2 separate regions of the Homo sapiens genome follow, and region 2 is linked to region 1. The links are contacts of gene promoters, found by promoter capture Hi-C in human tissues and cell types (Jung and others, 2019). All regions are on one chromosome and are shown on one strand. The core of a region is centred on a gene start or on the middle of the fragment in contact, and the rest is flanking DNA. Distances in the headings are between cores, read along the strand shown.

Evidence for each region. The method cuts DNA at HindIII sites, captures the fragments that hold promoters and counts their contacts. A contact is called where the count stands out against the background at its distance.
Region 2: a fragment that was not itself captured here is called in contact with the fragment with the promoter of ABRA in region 1 in 3 of the 25 tissues and cell types used here (hippocampus, mesendoderm cells and ovary).

Annotation. Positions count from the first base shown.
Region 1 is chr8:106,767,568-106,774,155 of GRCh38, reverse strand. ABRA (actin binding Rho activating protein) reads left to right here and starts at 3,912. Exons shown (of 2, transcript NM_139166.5): 1 at 3,912-4,633. The coding sequence starts at 3,966. The HindIII fragment of the contact is 12,258 bases long and covers 1-6,588 here.
Region 2 is chr8:106,811,179-106,818,172 of GRCh38, reverse strand. No RefSeq gene overlaps it. Among named protein-coding and RNA genes, the nearest start is that of ABRA, 44 kb to the right of the region's middle. The HindIII fragment of the contact is 5,186 bases long and covers 1,274-6,459 here.

The DNA of each region.
Region 1 (6,588 bases), core at 2,663-5,162:
AGCACTATAGTTAATAAAAGTGCATTAGAAATTTTAAAGTAGATTTTAGCTGCTCTTATCAAAAAAGCAACTATGTGAGATGATAAATATGTTACCTTGCTTTCTTATAGTAATCATTTTGCTATTTATTATACATGTATTCCATAAAATCATGTTGTAAACTTCAAATATACACAATAAAACAACTTAAAAAAGCAGCTATTGTGGCCTGGTGTGGTGGCTCACGTCTGTAATCCCAGCACTTTGGGAGGCCCAGGCAGCTGGATCACCTGAGATCAGGAGTTTGAGACCAGCCTGGCCAATATGGCAAAACCCCGTCACTACTAAAAATACAAAATTTGCCAGGTGTGGTGGAGCATGCCTGTAATCCCAGCTACTCAGGAGGCTGAGGCAGGAGAATCACTTGAACCCAGGGGGCGGAGGTTGCAGTGAGCCAAGACCATGGCACTTCACTTCAGCCTGGGCAAAAGAGTGAAACTCCATCTCAAAAAAAAAAAAAAAAAAAAAAGCGATTGTTTCATATAGCTTTGAGCAAATGTAGGTTCCTAAAGTCTCTTTAATCAGATTATACAGCTGGCTATGAGGGTTGGCTCTACCTAACTTCTAAGTGTATCATGCAGAAAAATATATAAATACCTCTCCTTCCTCTTTCTACTATTCATATGATCAAAAAATAACAAATACTATTTTCAAGATACTTTCTCACTTATGACAGACTTCTTAGGCGATAATGATCTCATTAATCAGGTCTGCATCTTCACAAACAGTTTCAAATCTCAAGGTTTCCTAGGAAGCTCCCATTGTAAAACACTTAATTCATTTTATTTTTGTCTTTGAGGTTTTATTTTCATTTCTAACATAAATGAAACAGGAAAATCTAGAACTCCCAAGAATTTGAATTTCGATTGAGACAATGAACGTAATATTTCTATAGTAATCAAAGATGTATGGGAGGTAGCATACAGACCTTGCTTTAGGGAAGAAAGGCCCAAAGCACGCGTGAGGAGGAAAACGATTTTACACTCTCTTCTGTAGAGTGATGAATGAAGGACTGCAGTTGCCATGGAGGCTAAATCTCAGAAGGAATGACTAGGTTCTTTTAGAAGCTGCTCCTGTTTTTCAGCCAAGACCATCTGCTGACATCCCCAAACCCCAGTAGCTGACTGCAATGCCAGTTAATACGTGAAAGACTGTTAACATTTGCTGTTTCCCTTTCTTCTCCCTCTATCAGGACTGAATCTGGGGCAGGTGTGGACAGGCAAGCAGGAAAATCCCGTTGAAAGCTATAAATTATCCTGATTCTGGGCTAAGCGTATGGGTGTCTTAGAGGAACTCTATTTTTTCCTAAGACCTTCCAAGTGGGATGAAGAGATTCTGATAAGAACCAAACAGGCTGCAGTGAATCTGCATTGCTGGGAGGAATGCCAGAAATTTCAGGCTCAGATTGAAATCTTTGTTTGTAATAGTTTTCTTTCCTTGTGATCCAATTTCCTCTTAATTAATCAAGAGGGATTTTTTTTTTTCTCCGCATTTCTGGCCCTCAGTTAATGTTATCAGATGCCGTTGAACTCTGGAAACACCTCTGACAGATCTGTAGATTAAGTATTAAATCACTTCCCAATTTTTTTTATCCTAAGAGGTAAATAACCCACACGATGAAAAACGAATAGCGGCCGGGCGCGGTGGCTCGCGCCTGTAATCCCAGCACTTTGGAAGGCCGAGGAAGGAGGATCACGAGGCCAGGAGATCAAGACCATCCTGGCTAACACGGTGAAACCCTGTCTCTGCTAAAAATACAAAAAAATTAGCCGGGCGTGGTGGCGGGCTCCTGTAGTCCCAGCTACTCCAGAGGCTGAGGCAGGAGAATGGTGTGAACCTGGGAGGCGGAGCTTGCGGTGAGCCGAGATCGCGCCACTGCACTCCAGCCTCGGCGACAGAGCGAGACTCCGTCTCAAACAAAAAAACAAAACAACAACAACAACAAAAAACTAATACCAACTTTTTTCCAAAATAAATGTCTCACTCTCTGAAATAATTAACTTTTATACCTTTTTGTGCTCTTAAACAGCAGTTTTCAATCAGTATGGTTACTTGCATGCAAGACTGAAGGAAAGGATATAGTTTTAAAGCCAACAGACCTGTTGAATGAAAAAAAATTCCGTCTTACTTTAAGAAATTATTCATTGCTGAGCCCTGGACATTTTTATCTGGTTTAATACACTGCATAGATGTTTCTCTTTCTGTCCACATGCTTGTCTTTCCAGTCCTTTTAAAAAAATATTATATTTCAGTCCCTCTTGTGAGAGTTGAAAAACTGTCTTTGCCTACATGAACATAAAGTCCTGCTAAGGAAGATTGTGTTACTAAAAACAAAAGGGGCCAGACGTGGGGGCTCACATCTGTCATCCCAGCACTTTGGGAGGCCAAGGTGGGAAGACTGCACAAGCTCAGGAGTTTGAGACCAGCCTGGGCAACATAGCGAGACTCCGTCTATATAAAACAAAAACAAAAACAATTAGCTAGGCATGGTGGCTCATGCTTGTATTCCCAGCTGCTTGGGAGACTGAGGCAGGAGGACTGATTGAGCACAGGAGGTCAAGGCTGCAGTGAGCCATCATCACACCACTGCACTCCAGCCTGGGGACACAGCAAGACCTTATCTCAAAAAACAAAACAAAACAACAACCACAAACCAAACGGTAAGGGTAGGCGGGATGGGGATAAGAAGTGAGCTACCGATAGCTTTCATTTATTCTGTCCTTAGAATTCTGTCCTTAGATGATCTTTTCAAACAAAGTATTTCAAAATATGTATTCCAACAATAATTTCTTTCTTTCTTTCTTTCTTTTTTTTGAGACGGAGTCTCGCTCGTCACCCAGGCTGGAGTGCAGTGGCTCGATCTCCGCTCACTGCAAGCTCCGCCTCCCGGGTTCACAGGATTCTTCTGCCTCAGCCTCCCGAGTAGCTGGGACTACAGGCGCCCGCCACTACGCCCGGCTAATTTTTTGTATTTTTAGTAGAGACGGGGTTTCACCATGTTAGCCAGGATGGTCTCGATCTCCTGACCTCGTGATCTGCCCGCCTCGGCCTCCCAAAGTGCTGGGATTACAGGCGTGAGCCACCTCGCCCGGCCTCCAATAATAATTTCTAAAATCCAATGTGTATACAGGTTTTAAAAACATTTTTTAATGATTGGACCAAAATTTTGACTCCCTTTTTGTATTTTAATATGAGTTATCTATACAATAGTTCAAAGTTGGGACTAGAAAGTAATTAGTCTTTGACTATCTGGACTTTGGTCTTTCTCGTATCTGGGCTTCAATTTTCTCATTTGGAAAATGAAGATTGGATGAGTTGATTTTCTAAGGTCTATTTCTAATGGAGTTGAATGAAAAAGAAAAAGGCAACTTAGGATCTTTGATAACTGGAATAAAAGGAGGCACACGCTTTGAATTACACAGAGATGGATTTGAATCTCATATTTTATTAGCTGCTGGAAGTTAGATTTTATTTTACTTAGCTATAAAGTGGAACTAATTAGGAGCTGTACTGAGGGCTGCTGGGGTTTAAGTGGGAACAATCCTATAATGTTCCCAGGATAATATGTATGCACCTATAAATGGTAGGACCATATTAAGGTCAGACAAACGTAAGGCTGAGCACATGACTTGATCTAGTAATTTCCACTCTGGCACTTGGAGAAGAGAGTGAGCATATCACTGTTCCTTACCAGCAGAGATGTCCCTCTGCCGTGATGAAACTGGAGCTGTCATGATTTATAAAAAGAACACCATCAGGGCAAAGGCGCCACATCTTGGCAAGAAATGCTTCACATAGTTTCCATCGTCACTAAGCTCTCCTTCCCACCCCGCACCCTGCTTCTATTTAAATCCCAGGCACTCCACTGGACCACACTCATTTTAGCCAGTGTCCAGGCTATCAGCAGAGAAAGACAGGTGGGCAGCATGGCTCCGGGCGAAAAGGAAAGCGGGGAGGGCCCAGCCAAGAGCGCCCTCCGGAAGATACGCACAGCCACCCTGGTCATCAGCTTGGCCCGAGGTTGGCAGCAGTGGGCGAATGAGAACAGCATCAGGCAGGCCCAGGAGCCTACAGGCTGGCTGCCGGGAGGGACCCAGGACTCACCTCAAGCTCCTAAACCAATCACACCCCCTACTTCACACCAGAAAGCTCAGAGTGCCCCAAAGTCGCCACCCCGCCTGCCAGAAGGACATGGAGATGGACAAAGCTCAGAGAAAGCCCCTGAGGTTTCTCACATCAAAAAGAAAGAGGTGTCCAAAACGGTGGTCAGCAAGACTTATGAGAGAGGAGGGGACGTGAGCCACCTCAGCCACAGGTACGAGAGGGATGCTGGTGTGCTTGAACCTGGGCAGCCAGAGAATGACATTGACAGAATCCTCCACAGCCACGGCTCCCCAACGCGGAGGAGAAAATGTGCCAACCTGGTGTCTGAGCTAACCAAGGGCTGGAGAGTGATGGAGCAGGAGGAGCCCACATGGAGGAGTGACAGCGTAGACACAGAGGACAGCGGCTATGGAGGAGAGGCTGAGGAGAGGCCCGAGCAGGATGGAGTGCAGGTGGCTGTGGTCAGGATCAAGCGCCCCTTGCCCTCCCAGTAAGTGAATGCATTCTCCCACTCCTTGTGTCAGGATCACTATTGAGCCCCAACCAAGTCTGGGAATCCAGGCAGCAGATGAAGTCCTGCCAGGGTTAGAGTGAGAATCTCAAAGACTGGACAGGCAGTGAGTACTGTAGAGGAGGGATGTCCCTGGGCTGAAGGTCAGTGCCAACCTTAGACATGGACCTTTTGGTCAGGGCCTGCGCTATTTTGTTTCTCGTTTTTGTTTTGAACTGAACACTCAAGTCTTAGCCTCAACAAAGATGAAGCCATCAGAGAGGGAAGCCTGTTTTTCGTGAATTCTTTAAGTCAGTTCTATAATGAGTAACAAATTGGCTTATTTCTTTAGAGATAAGAGTGGTTTCTGATAGACTCATTGGGGAAACTTTTACCTTGTCCCAAATGTCTATGCTATTATCAGGAGATACGTCTGCTTCAATAACACCCATGGAATACAAATCTCTGACTCTAAACAGGTGGAGGCTGCTGTCTAATTTGAAAGCAGGCTCTGAATGAAGTCAGACAGACCCAAGTTCAAATCCTAGTTCTGCCCCTAACTAGTCATTTTTAAAGGTGATTTCATCAGCTGGGCGCAGTGGCTCAGCCTGTAATCTCAGCACTTTGGGAGGCTGAGGAGGGCGGATCACTTGAGGCCAGGAGTTTGAGACCAGCCTGACCAACATTGGTGAAACCCCATATCTACCAAAAAACACACAAAAATAGCTAGGCACAGTGTTGTGCATCTGTAATCCCAGCTACCCGGGAGGCTGAGGCATGAGAATGGCTTTAACCCATGAGGCTGATGTCGGAGTGAGCCAAGATCATGCCACTGTACTCCAGCCTGGGCAACACAGCAAGACTCTGTTTCACATAAAAATTAAAAAAAGCAGATTTCCTCATTTGTAAAATGACAGCAACAGTAAGCTTTTGGGAGAAGTTCTATTGTATTGGGAAACGTAAATGAGATTAGGGCTACCAAACACAGAGCTTGTCACATATGCTCAATACACGAAAACTATTATTATTCACATAGATTTGGTTACTTTGCAACTTTTCAAATTTTCAAAAACAGTTTGTCCTATTTGTAAACAAATACAGCAATAATTAAAATATCTAGATGGTAAATACACATACATACACTCACATACACATTTACTCAAACTGAAACATGTATATAGACAAGAAACACGTGCTTTATTTCAAGACAGTAACTCCACATGGTAGAAAGTCAGGATTTCTTATTCCACAATGCCAGGGTATCAAAATATAAGAAAAATGTCTGATGTCATTACATTTATAGACTGACTCCCTTTGGGGACAGTTTGATGTGCAAGTGTGTTTTTCAAGTCTTATGAAACAATAAGAAAATAAAGAAAAAAATTGTTACCTAATTTGACAAAAAGCTGTTCCTTTTTTTTTTTTTTTGAGATGAAGTCTCACTCTGTTGCCCAGGCTGGAGTACAGTGGCACGACCTCGGCTCACTGCAACCTCCATCTCCTGAGTTCAAGTGATTCTCCTGCCTCAGCCTCCTGAATAGCTGGGATTACAGGTGCACACCACCACGCCCAGCTAATTTTTGTATTTTTAGTAGAGATGGGGTTTCACCATGTTAGCCAGGCTGGTCTCGAACTCCTGACCTCAGGTGATCCACCCACCTCGGCCTCCCAAAGTCCTGGGATGCATGAGCCACCGCACGCGGCCTAAAGAGCTGTCTTATAGTTTGAGACTGTAAAGGTGTTTTGAAAGAATTAGAACTACTACACTGCCAGCTCTCAAGAAAAATAAAATGGCAAATGGGTAATTACAATAATCTGTCACGTGTTCAGTGTGTGCTGTAGGTGTTTAAATGCTTTGTCGCTTCACTTCTCATAATCCTTTGAGTAGCTATTCACTCATTTCAGGGATAAGAACACCAAAGCTCAGAGGGGAAGTTTGCCCAGCAAATTAGTGA
Region 2 (6,994 bases), core at 2,617-5,116, 44 kb before region 1:
GGCTCACGCCTGTAATCCCAGCACTTTGGGAGGCCGAGGCAGGCGGATCACGAGGTCAGGAGATCGAGACCATCCTGGCTAACACGGTGAAACCCCATCTCTACTAAAAATACAAAAATCAGCTGGGTGTGGTGGCGGGCACCTGTGGTCCCAGCTACTCGGGAGGCTGAGGCAGGAGAATGGCGTGAACCTGGGAGGCGGAGCTTGCAGTGAGCCAAGATGGCGCCACTGCACTCCAGCCTGGGTGACAGAGCTAGACTCTGTCAAAAAAAAAAAAAAAAAAAGAGGTGACTGCACACAAAAATCTACATTTAGAAGAAATTGGTGTCTCAGTCTTAATCAAACCTCTCAGGTAGAGAAACCAGAGTCTTGTATCCCATGGTGAAAATGTACTGCTGCATCATTGGTAGGCTATCATTCTCCACACAATCGCCAAATGAGCTAGAGGAGTTTCCAATTTTCTCCACCCTTGGGAGAAGTCGCTGGAAGAAGTAGACCTCAAATTGATTTACAATTCTAGACACCCTTTCCCACCTATGTGAGAAAGTATTTCTCATAGGGCTTTTCACAGCTGTTGCCTTTTCCTGACACAAGTGTCAAACACTCTGGCAGGTGAATTCTGCGCCCCTTGGTGGCCTTGGGTGTTGGCATTTGTAAACCAGCATATTTCTGACATCACCCACATGCCAAAGCTCAGAAGAAAGCTACATGTGCGTTGGAGGAAAGACAGCTGCCTGGTCCCTGGAAGAAAACGCAATTAAGAACCCTTTCACCACACAGCCTCAGCAGAGTTAAGGGAGTTCAGGTGAGGGGAATGGAATCCCTGGGACCAGATATATGTCCCTGACAAAGAAGCCTAAGGAGACAGCAAGGTAGAACAAAAGGGCAAAAGATCAGTGTCTCATCTTGTTCCTCATTTTGCCCAAACCCTTGTCTGACGCAGCACCCAAAAACTGCTTCCTTTGATTCTGTATGGCAAGGCACCCAGGGTGAAATTAATTTCAATTGCACTTAATGTTTTGTAAACATAGCATGAATTGATTGGAACGAAAGAAGCCAAATCTACACAAAAGAGTCATCTACCCTGAGCCTGGTTACCTGTCAGGTGAAACATCTGACACTTTACTGGAAGACAATTAATGCTTTTTCTACTTTGTCAAACAATAAAGAGAGTGTGTAAAACCATCACAGGGTGAAGTGACACTTTACACACTGAAAAGATTATAGAATGTTAGAGACAGAAATTACCTTAGAATTAAGATTTCTAAGCACCTCATTTTGGATGAGGAACCTGGGTCTCAGTAAAGTGAATTCACCAAGTTTACACAGCCAGTTAGTGAGAGTCATATACTTGATATAGTTATTTAGCAAAAAATCATTTAGTAATATTTCCAGGCCCTATGCTGAGGACTGAGGATACAAAGGAGATATAAACAAGTCTGAGTTCCTTGAGGTCAGGGGCTATAGTTTTCCAACTGGGAGGTCAAAGTTGAAGTATTACACTAAGAATCATCCAGATATAATGACGGATAAATCCACAAGTGGATGAGTTCATTCAGGTCCAATGTGCAAAGGGGAAACAGGGGACTCACAACCCAGTCTCCTCATGAGCAGTCCAAGGTATTTTCCACAAGGTCCACCCCAGCCAATACCTTCAAAAGAAAAACAAAGCAATCCCTGCAGCATCACATTGTAAAATCTTGTGATTTAAGAGAGTTTTCTGTGAATCAGGAATGTCATATTTATTACCAAAATGCTCTCAAATCTCATACTTGTACTGATTACTATAAAACAGATCTTGGTACATTACATAAATAGCCCAGACTTCATAATCCGTGAGGTCCCACTTTCCTTTAACACACAAATCACAATAGTTGGAACCTTTTATCCTTCTAATGTTCAGTCTTTTGCCAGGTTTTCTTCTTCTAACAGTTTCTGAATATCTCAGTTTCTGATGTGTTCCCTGTACTAGTCAGGGTTCTCCAGAAAAACAGAACCAATAAGAAATATAGAGATATGTGACCAGGCATGGTGGCTCACGCCTGTAATCCCAGCACTTTGGGAGGCCAAGGCGGGTGGATCACGAGGTCAGGAGATCGAGACCATCCTGGCTAACACAGTGAAACCCTATCTCTACTAAAAATACAAAAAATTAGCCGGGCGTAGTGGTGGGCACCTGTAGTCCCAGCTACTCAGGAGGCTGAGGCAGGAGAATGGCGTGAGCCCCGGGAGGCAGAGCTTGCAGTGAGCTGAGATCTCGCCACTGCACTTCAGCCTGGGCGAGAGAGCAAGACCCCATCTCAAAAAACAAATATAGAGATATGTAAGAGGAGATTTACTAGGGGAATTGGCTCACAAAATTATGGAGACCAGGACATGTTGCCATATGATATCTTCAAGCTGGAGAACCAGGAAAGCCAGTGGTGTAATTCAGTCTGAGGCTGAAGGCCTGAGAACCAGGAGCTCTAATGTCTGTGGGCAGAAGATGGATTTCCCAACTCAAGAAGACAGAGCTAATTTGCCCCTCCTCTGCCTTTTTTACCCTTTTGGGTCCTCAAAGGATTGGATGATGCTTGTGCACATTGGCAAAAGTGAAGCTTCTTTACTCAATCTACAAATTCAAATGCCAATCTCTTCTGGAGATAGCCTCACTGGTACACCCAGAAAAAATGTTTTACAAGCTATCTGGGCATCCCTTAACCCAGTCAAGTTGACATATAAAATTAATCATTGCCTTCCCCAGGCCGCCTTCAGCAGCCATGTGATTCTGGACTCTGTAGATTATGTCTTCCCATTCTAGGGGAGCCATCTTCAAGTACAGCAGAAGCTATTTCCTTCCATTTCTGACAGCATTGCAGAAACAAGATACTTTTTGAAAAACTAAGACTTTTCCAACATATTGCACAGTCTCCACCCTCTTCTAGGTCCCTTACAAAGTAAGTTGACACCGTGTCTTCTATCCCAGGCCACTTGCTCAGGCCCAGGGGTTTATCCTACCCCCAACATCTATATGCGTTCTTGGTTCCTTTCGCTCCAGATCTAGGCTAAATTAACCCAGGCCTTGGAGAGAAAAGAAAGGTGTTTTCCTCACCCTTTCTAAGACTCACCCAGGAATGACTTCTTTCCAAAATGATTGACAATTGAAATATCCACTTCCATTAGAGGCAAACTTACTCCTATGTTCAAGGCTGCAGTTGAACTGCTCCCAGGAATTTTCTATGACGTGATATCAGCACATCCCCCAAAGCCTCTGTTCTTTAGTTTGTCCCAGTTTATAGGACATCAATAGCCCAATGGAAGTTAGGTGGTGCCAAAATTAGTCTTATTTTGTAATAGGCAACATAATGGCTCCCAAAAGTATCTATATCCTAATCCCTGCAACCTATGAATATATATGTTACCTTACATGGGAAAAGGTACTTTGCAAATATGATTAAGTTAGGGACCATGAAATGGGGAAGTTATCCTGGGTTATCTGGGTGGGCCCAATGCAATCACAAGCATCCTTAAAAGCAGAAAGCTCTTCCTGGCTGCGAGGAAGGTATGACTATAGAAGAAAGATCAGAGAGCTGCACATTACTGCCTATGGAGAAAGGGGCCACAAGCCAAGGAATGCTGGCACCTAGAGAAGTAGAAAAGGGCAAGGAAATGAATATTTCCCCAGAGCATCCATAATGAATTCTACATTGCCAACACCCTGATTTTAGCCCAGTGAAATCTGTACCAGGCATCTGACCTGCAGAACTGTAACATAAAAAATTTGTGTTGCTTTAAGCTCCTGAATTTGTGGCAATTTGATATGGCAGCAATAGAAAACTAAAACCTATTCCCTTTCAGTGTCTTTACATAAAGAGTGCAGAAGGCATGGAGGAGCAAGTCTCACCCAGAAATATCCTTGTAATGTGAGTTCATCTTGGATGTGGTTTAGTGGGTTTTGATAAGCAGCAGCTCTTTCCTAACCCCAGTCATTGTCAAACTCAATAAAATCATCTAAATCAGTAAATAAGGTTGAAGTCAATAGAGAAAATATTTAAATCAATTAGAAATAGATTCTCTAACCTAGGATTTCTCAACCTTGGCACTATTGACATTTTGGACCAGACAGTTCTTTGTTGGAGGTGGGATGCTGTCCTCCTCATGTAGGATTTTCAGCAGAATTCCTGACCTCTACCCCCTTGATGCCAGTAGCAACCCTTCACCTGTGACAACCAAAAATATCTCCAAATATTGCCAAATGTCCCCTGGGGGGAAAAAATCACCTGTGGTTGAGAACCACTGTTCTATCCCAAAAATCTCTTGGAGAAAAGCAAGGAAGCTGTCTTATAAAAATAACTAGGATATTTCAGGATATGAAATGTTTAGTTGAGAAGTAAACACTGGGAGGATATATGTCAATCCCATAGGCCTTTACACTTCTGGTACGTGAAACAAAAAGAATCAGGGACGTAAATATCCATTTCCAAGTGATTTAGGTATCAATAACTTCTTGAATAAATTCTCTGTGCTTTCCTCCACTTTTAATACAAGCTTTCTTTCCATGAGTCAATGATTTTTCCTGGCAAAGTGACCTGGAATGGCATTAAATGAAGCTAGGCACTGTGATTTCACTTGTAAGGACATGGCATGACTTCTTAGGATATTACACACTAACACAACCAACTGCAGGTGGCTTCAAGTTACACAGCAGAGGCCAGTAGACAGTGGGTGTGTCATCATAGAGCAACCTACTGAGAGGGGTGGAGGCCTTCAACATAGCTAAATTAACTTAGACTAAAACTATTAGGTGGAATCTCTTCCTAGAAAAGAACAAAAACAATTGAATTCAATGTCACAACTACAACCAGCCACATACTTTCATTCCATGAATGAGATTTAGCTACAATAGCCCTAAATGCTGGCACCTCAAGCTGCCACATGCCTAGGAAATCAAAGGTTCTCTATTCTTCTCAAACACGGCAATGATCTAAAAATAGGGAAGTGATTTAGGAACTAAACAAAGCAACTGAGTTAGTTGTTTGTAACCTGTAAATAAGTCAGCATATGAGTTCAACTGACAGCAATTTCAAAAGGAAGAATTCAACCTAGAGCAAAATGTAATCTATCATCACAATCATATTAACCAAATTAATACATTAGTGGAGCAAATGATCCAAGGTTTGAGTCTATAGCAAAACAGCTAAAGATCTGGGTGACATTTTTTTCAGACCAATAATAAATTTGTCTGGATCTCTTTTGTGGGATTGAGACTTTTCAAAATTGGCATTTTCTGTAAAGTACATTTCAAGATCTATTACATTAAGGGGGAATAAGTCCTTATGTATTTTTCCAGAACTAGGGCCCATGAATGGAAGTTTTAGAAAATCAGGTTTCAGAACAAAATACCAAAAAACATTTTTGCCCTTGTTGTTGAATAAAAATTGCTTAACAAGGGATTGAACTCTGTTGTGAATCAGTTTCCAGAAGGGGCTGCATCATCATTTATTAAAAATGGTGGTCGGGCGTGGTGGCTCATGCCTGTAATCCCAGCACTTTGGGAGGCCGAGGCCAGTGGATCACCTGAGGTCAGGAGTTCGAGACCAGCCTGGCCAACATGGTGAAACCCCGTCTCTTCTAAAATACAAAAATTAGCTGGCATGCGCCTGTAATCCCAGCTACTTGGGAGGCTAGGGCAGAAGAATCGCTTGAACCTGGGAGGCAGAGGTTGCAGTGAGCCGAGATCATGCCACTGCACTCCAGCCTGGGTGATGGAGTGAGACTCTATCTCAAAAAAAAAAAAAAAAAGGTGCCTGTGACAGCCCTGATTTAAATGAGAGGTTAGACTAGCAGCCCTTCACGTGGCCTCTTCATGCTTTTGGGGGGTCTACAGTAAGGTAACAGCAACCAAGAAGTGACTGTCATTGAGGGCTTCGGGGTCCTGGGTTCTAAGACACCAGATGACCTTTCCCTGCCCCCAGTCCCAGAGGAACCTGCTACTGCCCGCAGAAGAATCGGTGACAGGGTGCTTGTCCTTACTTCTATGATGGAGCCACTGTATGACTGAGCACATAACTGTCAGTTTGCACAGGTTAGCAGGGGATGAGGAAAGGCCCATCATCCTCTCTGTTCTCTACCTCTTACTCTTCTCGACAATATTTTTTTTGGTGGGGGGGTAATTCAGCTAAGGTTCAATCCCTAATAATTTAGTTCTCTTATTGATGTTTTTAAGTTGGCTCACAATTTCAGCTCTCACTTGTTCCCTTTGTATATTACAAACTGAAACCATTCTTTCAATAAATATTCATTAAGAATCTACTCATGTTGGATACTGCAGCAGGCACTGGAATTAAAATGGTGAGCAATATAGGGTGGTCCCTGCCCTTCAAGGTGTTAACAGTCAACAGAGAATACATGGAAACAAGCAGGCAGCAGCATCAGTGAGGTGTCAGAAGGGCAACAGAGGGCCTTAGGGGAGTGAGGGGCAGCATGCCTCTCACCTCTGGGAGGGGTTTGCCGGAGCCAGGGCCCTTTAAATTGAGCCCTGGGGAAGGAGTGAAAATTAGGCAAAGAAAAGAATAACTGTTCCAAACAGAGAGAAAAGCATGAAGGCCAGGAGACAAGAGAGCTACGTGCTTTTGAGGAGGTGGTAGGAGCTGTCCATGGCTGAGTTGCAGAGGACCCGGGGGCGGGGAGCCCTAAGCAATGAGGCTGGAGAGGTGGGTGGATGTCCTTCTTCCCTTTGGTAACCATGTGGTGTAGCCACATTAAGCCTGTTATAGTGGGAACTAGGAAAGCACCACCCTCCAAGTGCTGTAAAACAACCCTGTCTGTGTTCAAGCAACCCCAGGAGGTAATCTGCTCTGGGCACACTTTTCCTCCATGCAGCCTAGAGATGACACTGATGGTGGAGTCGGTGACTGTCCCTGTGCCCCATTTCTCCACAGTTCCCACCAAAGGCTACACTTACACTCTCCCCTCTCTCAGAGTGGGCTTACTGGTGATGTACACTGCACAGCAC